Linked DNA regions of Homo sapiens: regions 1 and 3 are each linked to region 2. Evidence: promoter capture Hi-C in 16 types of primary human blood cells and fetal thymus (Javierre and others, 2016). All regions are on one chromosome and are shown on one strand. The core of a region is centred on a gene start or on the middle of the fragment in contact, and the rest is flanking DNA. Distances in the headings are between cores, read along the strand shown.

Region 1 (2,700 bases), core at 61-2,560, about 24 Mb before region 2:
ATGGCGTGAACCTGGGAGGTGGAGCTCGCAGTAAGCCGAGATGGCGCCACTGCACTCCAGCCTGGGCAACAGAGCCAGACTCCGTCTCAAAAAAAAAAAAAATTATTTGTAGAGACAGGGTCTCATTATGTTGCCTAGGCTGCTCTCAAACTCCTGGAATCCAGAGATCCTCCTGCCTCGGCCTTCCAAAGTGTTGGAATTACAGGCATGAGCCACCACACCTGGCCCTTTCCTACTTTCCATGTTTAAATATTCAAGAATCAATTGCTTTTTTTCATGGCAGCCTGTATGTGTTCAGTAGGCATAATACCTTAACAAATTTGAAGATACTAATACTTACTTTAAAGCTTTCTTTTGTCTTACATTAGCTCCACTGCTTCAGTGCCTAGTTCTGTATTTGTTTGGTCTGAAGCTTCTCTTAGATGCTACCGATTTCCCACAAATGTTTAGTGATTTTTGTTGTGTGTTCACATTATAAATGTGCTAGTAGTATCTCAGTCCATATGAAAATCACTGTACTCCTGCTGTGAATTCACATTTGTAACTAGCCCTATAATTCAATTTTACACTTATACCTAGTGCTTGTGTAGCATGACAATAACAATGTAAGTTCTTTGACTTGCAGTCCCGTGATTCTTCAATCCACTTTCAGTCATATCCTTTTGGTATTTCATTTCCTCTAAAAAACCACTAACTTGAGTAATACAGTTCTTAAGTAAATGTTATGCTAAACTTCAGAGTCAGATCCTCACCAGCTCTAACAGACTTGTCTAACAGTTAAACAAACAATGACAGTCCGACAGAAGACAGTCATAAATGTGCAATTCAAAGGGTAAATAATAACATGGTAATGAATGAATCACTTACGTCTTGAACTCATAATAGTTATGCTTTTTTAAAACCAACCTTGAATGTTATATTAGTTAAAATAACAAATTCTATTACATTAAAAAAAAGATGACTCCATGTTGGTTAAATTTTCTGCCTTTGGTTGGTAATGGTATGGTTGGTAATGACTCCATGTTGGTAATTTTCTGCTTATGCCATGACTCAGTCATTCTATAGCTGACAGAAATGCATACAGATGCTCACCAAGACATTTAATTTACAAGAATGTCCACAGTACTCTTTTTTTTTTCTTTTCTTTTTGAGACCGAGTCAGGCTCTGTCGTCCAGGCTGGAGTGCAGTGGCACGATCTCGGCTCACTGCAACCTCCACCTCCCGCCTCAGCCTCCCAAGTAGCTGGGCTTACAGGCGCCCGCCACCACGCCTGGCTAATTTTTGTATTTTTAGTAGAGATGCGGTTTCACCATGTTTGCCAGGCTGGTCTCGAACTCCTGACCAAGTGATCCACCTGCCTCGGCCTCCCCAAGCGCTGGGATAAAAGGCCTGAGCCACCACGCCAGGCCCACAGTATTCTTAATATCCAAAACACATCATATACAAAAATTGGGAACATAAATGTCCATCAACTGAAGAGTAGTCACATATTATTCAATAGACTATTACACAGTAATAATACAATACCATGAAATAGCATGGGTGTGTCCCACAAACAATATGCTGAGAATACTACGTGATTCCATTAACATGAAGCTCAAAACAGAGAAAACTAAAAGCAGATAAGAGAAGTTAGAATACAGATGGGAAAACAAGGATATAACTGACTTGGAAGAAGCACAGGAAAATAGGATGATGGAAATGTTCTATGGTTATAATTTGATATATCTGGTGGTTCCACAGGGTAATAAGTATGTAAAAATTCATTGAGCTGTACAATTAAGATTCGTGCTCTTATTGATTTCATATGTATTTTATGCCTCGACAAAAACAAAGAGAAAAATGCAGCTTCTAAACTGGTTGGAACTGTGTTTATTTAGGCCAAAATCCTCTGAGCCACAAATACTGGAAATCCATCTTTTTTCATTCTTTTAGTTACATGACAACTTTAAACAAATGGTACAAGAACAATAATACAAAATGAACGCTAACACTCAGTCCTAAAATACTTGGCTTCTTACTTCCAAGATCGAAGCTACTATTTTAATACAACATTCAAAAAACAACATTAATTACCAGACATGAAGGCCCTGCTCCCGCGAGCCTTGAATGACGGTGAAACGTCACGACATCCCATATCTATCTCAAAAGCACGCTAGAAAATACCTCCAAGTTTAACAAGCCAAGGACTCAGGAAGAGAAGCTTCAGATGTATAATCAAACTATCATACCGCCAATACCATCATCACAAACAGAAGTATCACTGTCGTGCTTCCTGCGTTGCTCAAGGGTAGAGTCATTTTTAAGGTGCATTCTCCGACAACGCCAGAGGCTCCCCATCTCCTCCGCCCCACTGAGCCCTCCACGACAGAGCATCTTTACCGGCGCTCGCTCTGCCATCTACAGATAAAGAGGGGCTGAGGGCAGAACTATTTTAACGCGATGACGAGGTCACCACTGATTAAAAAGTTTATCCACTGAGAGGAGCAGAGATGGTGATGAATAGGTAAAAACAAAACGAAACAAAACAAAACCCAACACTGACAAGCGAACCAATCGTCTCTGGCCGCGCTTTCCCTAAAACCGGTGCCGACTCCGGCAGGCTCATCCCTGAGAGACAGGGCCCCCCGCAGGACCGGTCCGCTAGGCGACCCCACCCGACCACACAGGAGCCCGCAGCCCCGGCGCCCGCACCGCCC
Region 2 (2,791 bases), core at 142-2,641:
ACCCACAAAGTGTGAAGCTCTGCTCACTTTGAAATCATTTGATAAGTAATATTATCTGTGGTTACTGGATACAGGCATATACATATATATACACATGTGTGTGCCTGTATCTATATTTATAACCTTGAAAAAGACTGCTTTAGTGTTCTTATCAATCTACAGAACAAGTCAACTAAAGCCATTCCATTACCTCCACAACTTCTTAAATCCAGAAAAAGATTAGATACCTACATTAGCAGTAACAAATTGGTACCAACATAAAAGGAAATAAAACTGGCTTATTAACGATGCCCGGCTCTTAAATGTAAAATGAAACGAGTTGATTTTCAAAACTGGTTTCAATTACTAAGAAACCATTCTGTTCAAAGGACGCCTCAAACTTTAACTTATCGTCGGCCCCTTTTTTGGTCTGGGTGTTTTCTCTCTTCAGAAGACATCACATCTCATTCTGATTCAGAACAGGTTTTGCAACTTCTCGGCCCTTTGGACCTGCCACTTCCAGGTGTCTCATTACCTGTTACAGACTAATTACGGACACGTAACGTCTTACACAAAACCGAAAAGCATTTAGTTTCTGAACTAAATGCTTTAAAAAAAAAAGTTTACAATGAAGATGCTGGAAAACTCGTGCATCTGAATAGGACAACTCATTCCCAAGTCCTAGAGGAAAGGAGGCGAAATCAGAGTGAAAGTGCACTGGCTTACGGCTCAAACTGCAGGGCGGGAAAACAAAGCACCTACATTACTCAAAAAAAAAAAAGTTCTAGGTTTCTGGGCGGACACTTATCCTGGGGATACACATAGACACAAGCACGCTTCAATAAAGACGAGAAAGGCCCTCCATACGCCTCCTGGCATCATTAGCTGTATCCCGCTTTACTTCGCCAATATCCAAACATTCTCAGTTTGGATTCTGGGACGCCAAATACCTTCTCTTCTGCCTCCCTATTTCTCCCACACGTCAGGTCTCTCCTGTACGTCCTCCAGGTCTAAAACACTGAGTTTCTGCCCGCCCCCTGGCCTAAGTCCCTTCCTCCTCCGCGTCTCCGAACGCTCTGTCCCCTGTCTCCGGTGTCCCCATCGGCGGCGGGACCCTCTGCCTCGGATTCGAGCCGCCGCGCAGCTCCATTCTTCTCACCTTGGTTACAGAAGAGGCTCCACAGTTTGGCGAAGATCAGCCCCATCACGAGCACCGGGGCGGGCCGCGGGGTCCCTCGGCAGCAGGTGCCGCTGCGCCGGGTCCCCCACCGCGGCGCGGGCTGCGCGGAGCCGAGGAGAACCCGCCTGAGATCGCGCAGCGAGGGCACTGCTAGGCCGAGAAGCCTCGACCCGACCACTCAGAAGGCGCCGCGACGAATCCCCACCGGACAGCCCTTTGTTTCGAGCCCACTGAGCCCAACGCCGACCCGTAGTCCCCTCGGTCTGTACCCACCTACCTACCACAGCCTCTCCACAGCCCCAAGCCCCGCCTCCACCCCGCCTCCCCTCCGGATCCCAGGACCACCCATCGCCGGAAGCTAGGCGCGTGACGACGGCGCACTTACGGCAACCCACGCCTTCGACGTGGCGTTTTCTTCGGTTTCACTTCCGGTAGGAGAGTCCCAAACGGCCAGCGGCTGGGAATTTGCGGTATCGCGGGGGGGTGGGAAATTTCCCTTGGTGCGTGCTCCTTCTGATGTCAGCCTTCAAAACGTTTGTGGGACTCCCCTTTGATTTGAGTCTCTGCTGCTAGCAGCTGCTTCCCTGACCTCTAAAACCAGGAAAGACCATAGGTTCTCTAAGTGAGCAGCCGCCGTTTGCTGCTCTTAGAAAACTCACAGAAGTGAAGAGTGTTTCTTTCCTGACTTATTCCTGTTCCCCTAGGCAGGCGTGCTAGGGGTTAGGAGTTCTGCCGTGATTCTTCTTCATTCATTTATTAATCTATTCATTCACGTATTCATTCATTGGCTTATGCATTTATGTACTCATTGATTGATTGATCGATTGCAGACGAGGTCGGGCTGTGTTGCCCAGGGGGACTCAATTTCCTGGGCTCAAGCGATCTTCCTGCCTCGACTTCCCAAAGTGGTGGGATTGCAGGCTCAGCCACCGCGCCCGGCCCCTGTCGTGATTCTTAGTTCTGAAAAGAATTGATTGGGAGACGAGCCATGGAAGGCCTGGAGCCACAGAGTTCAGTTATGTGATTAATAATAACACATAATAATAACACATAGCACCCCTCTCCATTTTGCCAAGCATTAGGTATGTTCGTGGATCCCAGATCGAAGTCCACGCATAAGCCAATTCGCTGTGTAATTGTTTTCAATTCCACTTTCCATGGTTAGGTTCTAGCATTGAAAAGAAAAGCTTCACAGCCTGGCATGAAACGAAACTGAATGTCCTTGAAACCAGTTGACGGAGGAGCAAGCTTAAAATTTTTTTAGACTCTGACTTCAGTCAGATGGTTGGATTTTAACCTTGGCAACGTGGCCTTTTAACATGCCAAACTCTTGAGTTAACCTGTACAAGGAGAATGTATGACTTACGTCCTCCCAGTGCTATGGTTTAAAGACCCTTTAAGACTTAGATGCAGGATAATATGCTCCAACGTTACAACATTAAAGGCAAGTTTCAACCTCCTATGTAGAGGAAAAAGAATGTACTGACCCTATGCAAACTTAACTTTCATGACTATCAGTTGGACCATAAATGTGAATAATTTTGTGTTTGTGTAAGTAATGGCTTAAAAGGACATTTTTAGTCCTAGCTTCATTATCACAAAACAAACTTTAGATTCCGTAACAGCTTCTTC
Region 3 (3,071 bases), core at 479-2,978, about 40 Mb before region 2:
ATTTTGTGTTCTTCACTGAAACCATATTTCATCAAAATACATTTAAATCTTAGTTCTAAGAATACAAAGTATTTTGTTTTTTAAACTGTAAAAATTGTATAGTACACGGATCTTTTAGGAAAAAAATTCAGTTTAAGTAGTGCCCTTCCCCCTACTCATTCTCCCAGGGGCAATCACTGGTAACTACTTCCTGTCTATCCTTTCAGGCCTTTGTTTCTGGGCACATACATAAACACATTAGCGCGGTTCTGTTTTTTTATACAAATAAATCTATCAGCAACTTTTCTCATTCTGTATTATATCATGTATTATACCTATATTTTTGCACTTACGGTATACTTTATTCTTTCTAAAAATTGTGTTCTACAATGTGGATGTATCACAATTTATTTAACTATTTCTGTAATCATAGATTTTTAGACTTTTCACCATTTGTTTGCTGTGATAAGTAATGTACTTATTAAACATTCTTGTATATAATAGCATACCTTGCACGTTGTGTACCTATCTCTGTAGGAAGTTTTCGCAAAAAAAAGATCAATATAAATTCCCAAAACTCACCAAAGTTAGCATAAAATTCTTTTAATATGTATCATTAAGTTCTTTAAAAAGTCCTTAAAGTTTTAAACAAATGATGGAAATCTGATATTTCTTGATCTGATGTAGGATGTAGAAATGGGGTAGTCTATAGGGAAAACAAGGATTTAAACTGATAATTGTTGTGGGGGAGAAAGACCTACAATTATCTTGGCTTAGTAGTCTCTTTTTATTAGATATCCTCTGAAACTAATTAACCTAAAATAATTTCAAGCCTACAGAAAAGTTGCAAGAACAATAGAAAAGTAACATTTTGCAAAATTTGTTTTATTATCTCTCAATGCAAATAATTTTTCTTAACTATTTGCAAGTAGGTTGCATACATTATGCCACTTTACATGTTAATACTAAAGTGTGTCTTCCTTAAGAACAAGGATATTCTCTTCTGTAGCCACAGCACATTGATCAACTATGGGAAATTTAACAGGGATATAATACTTTAATCTATAGTCCATAGTCTCACTTTGTCAACTGTTCCAATACTGTAATGTCTTTTATCACATTTGTTTTTCTCAGTACAGGATCTGGTCCAGAATCATTTATTGCAATTAGTTGTTATGTCTTTTAGTGTCCTTTCATTTGTAACATATCCTCAGCCTTTCCCTGTCCTTTATGACATTGTCATTTTGAAGAGTACAGGCCAGTTATTTTATGAAATGTTCTTTAATTTGGGTTTCTGATAGTTCCTTACGATGGGATTCAGATGATACTTTTCCAGCTGGAACATTGTGTAAGTGGAGGCCAACAATAGCTGCCCTTTGGTAGTGGATTATTTCTGGTTGTCTGATTCAAGTGTAGTCTGGCTTCTTCAGTATATCGTTTTGTTTGTTTGTTTTTTGAGACAGGCTCTTGCTGTGTCACCTAGGCTGGAGTGCAGTGGCGTGATGTAGTTCACTGCAGCCTCAAACTTCAGGGCTCAAGCAATCCTCCTGCCTCAGCCTCCTGAGTAGCCGGGAGTATAGGTGCACACCACTAGGCCAGGCTAATTTTTTTTTTTTTTAACGGAGTCTTGCTCTGTTGCCCAGGCTGGAGAACAGTGGCGCGGTCTTGACTCACTGCAACCTCCGCCTCCCAGGTTCAAGTGATTCTCGTGCCTCAGCCTCTTAAGTAGCTAGGATTACAGGAGTGCACCACCATGCCTGGCTAATTTTTGTATTTTTAGTAGAGACGGGGTTTTGCCATGTTGGCCAGGCTGGTCTTGAGCTCCTGGCCTCAGGTGATCCACCCACCTCTGCCTGCCAAAGTGCTGGGATTACAGGCATGAACCACTGCTGGGCCAGGCTAATTTTAAAATTTTTTGTAGAGATGGGATCTGGCTTTGTTGCCCAGGCTGGTCTTGAACTACTGGCTTCAAGTGATCCTTCTGCTTCAGCCTCCCAAAGTGCTAGGATTACAGGAATGAGTCACCATGCCTGGCTTCAGTATATAGTTAATGTTTTCTGTTCTACATTTAATAAGCTATATGTGAGGAGACACTTTACAGTCATGCAGCTATCTGGATTCTCATCAACTTCATCCCTAGATTTGGCATCTGTTGATTCTTGCCTGAAGCTGTGTTTATTCTGATAGTTACAAAATTGTGATTTTTTCCCCCCATTCTTTCACTCCCTCTGCTTTAACAGCTAGCATTCCAAGAAATAGCTCTTCCTTTACCCTTAAGTATTTATGTCCTTATTTATAATCAGTTTGCATCATGGATTCCTATTTGATAACATGTATCATTACCCATTATGGAACTTATTTATTGGACTTTAATCACATCTCAATGTTTTTAAAAAAGGAACTTATTTATTTTGTTGCTCAAATGGTCCCAAATTTGACCATTGAGAGCACTTCCTTTCTGTCATAACAGATTTTTTAGAATTATCTCATAACTTTCTTCCCCAGCCCTAGAGTCAACCATTTCTTCAAGGAGCCCTGGTTTCTTTTTAGTGGAAAATGGTATTTAGAAACCAAGATCTGTGTTACTAGGTATTGTCATAACTGTTGGAGTATCATTTCTTCCAGGACTTTTCAATGGACATGATTTTTAAAGTATGTATAAATATTTTAGAAATTATAATTTCATATTTCAAATTTCATTTAAACCCGAGTTCTTCCTTTCCCTTGATTCTAAATTTGTATTTCCCTTCTTCTGTAGTAAGAACCCTGGCTCCCAGTGATATTAATATGTTTATTCTTTTGCTTAATCTTACAATTTTCAGAATTTCTACACCCATACTACTTCAGAAAACAAGCCTAGAATAAAGAATTCAGGATGAGATTTTTTTATTTATTTATTATACTTTAAGTTCTGGGGTACATGTGCACAACGTGCAGGTTTGTTACATATGTATACATGTGCAGTGTTGGTTTGCTGCACTCGTTAACTAGTCATTTACATTAGGTATTTCTCCTAATGCTATCCCTCCCCCATCCCCCCAACCCCACGACAGGCCCCGGTGTGTGATGTTCCCTGCCCTGTGTCCAAGTGT

Evidence for each region. The method cuts DNA at HindIII sites, captures the fragments that hold promoters and counts their contacts. A CHiCAGO score of 5 or more calls a contact.
Region 1: a contact is called between a fragment that was not itself captured here and the fragment with the promoter of ARL5B in region 2, in 1 of 17 cell types (total B cells). The highest score is 7.9, in total B cells.
Region 3: a contact is called between a fragment that was not itself captured here and the fragment with the promoter of ARL5B in region 2, in 2 of 17 cell types (total B cells and total CD4 T cells). The highest score is 9.9, in total B cells.

Annotation. Positions count from the first base shown.
Region 1 is chr10:43,138,624-43,141,323 of GRCh38, reverse strand. All of the region lies in intron 1 of CSGALNACT2 (chondroitin sulfate N-acetylgalactosaminyltransferase 2), which reads right to left. Among named protein-coding and RNA genes, the nearest start is that of CSGALNACT2, 1.5 kb to the right of the region's middle. RefSeq lists silencers at 2,343-2,412, 2,523-2,700. The HindIII fragment of the contact is 1,792 bases long and covers 415-2,206 here.
Region 2 is chr10:18,658,031-18,660,821 of GRCh38, reverse strand. It overlaps ARL5B (ARF like GTPase 5B), which reads right to left and starts at 1,391. Exons shown (of 6, transcript NM_178815.5): 1 at 1,139-1,391. The coding sequence starts at 1,184. It also overlaps a transcript of NSUN6 not described here. RefSeq lists a silencer at 1,223-1,302 and enhancers at 1,613-1,742, 2,443-2,562. The HindIII fragment of the contact is 6,724 bases long and covers 1-2,348 here.
Region 3 is chr10:58,262,048-58,265,118 of GRCh38, reverse strand. The region is part of intron 1 of IPMK (inositol polyphosphate multikinase); the gene reads left to right. Among named protein-coding and RNA genes, the nearest start is that of IPMK, 4.3 kb to the left of the region's middle. The HindIII fragment of the contact is 3,933 bases long and covers 1-3,071 here.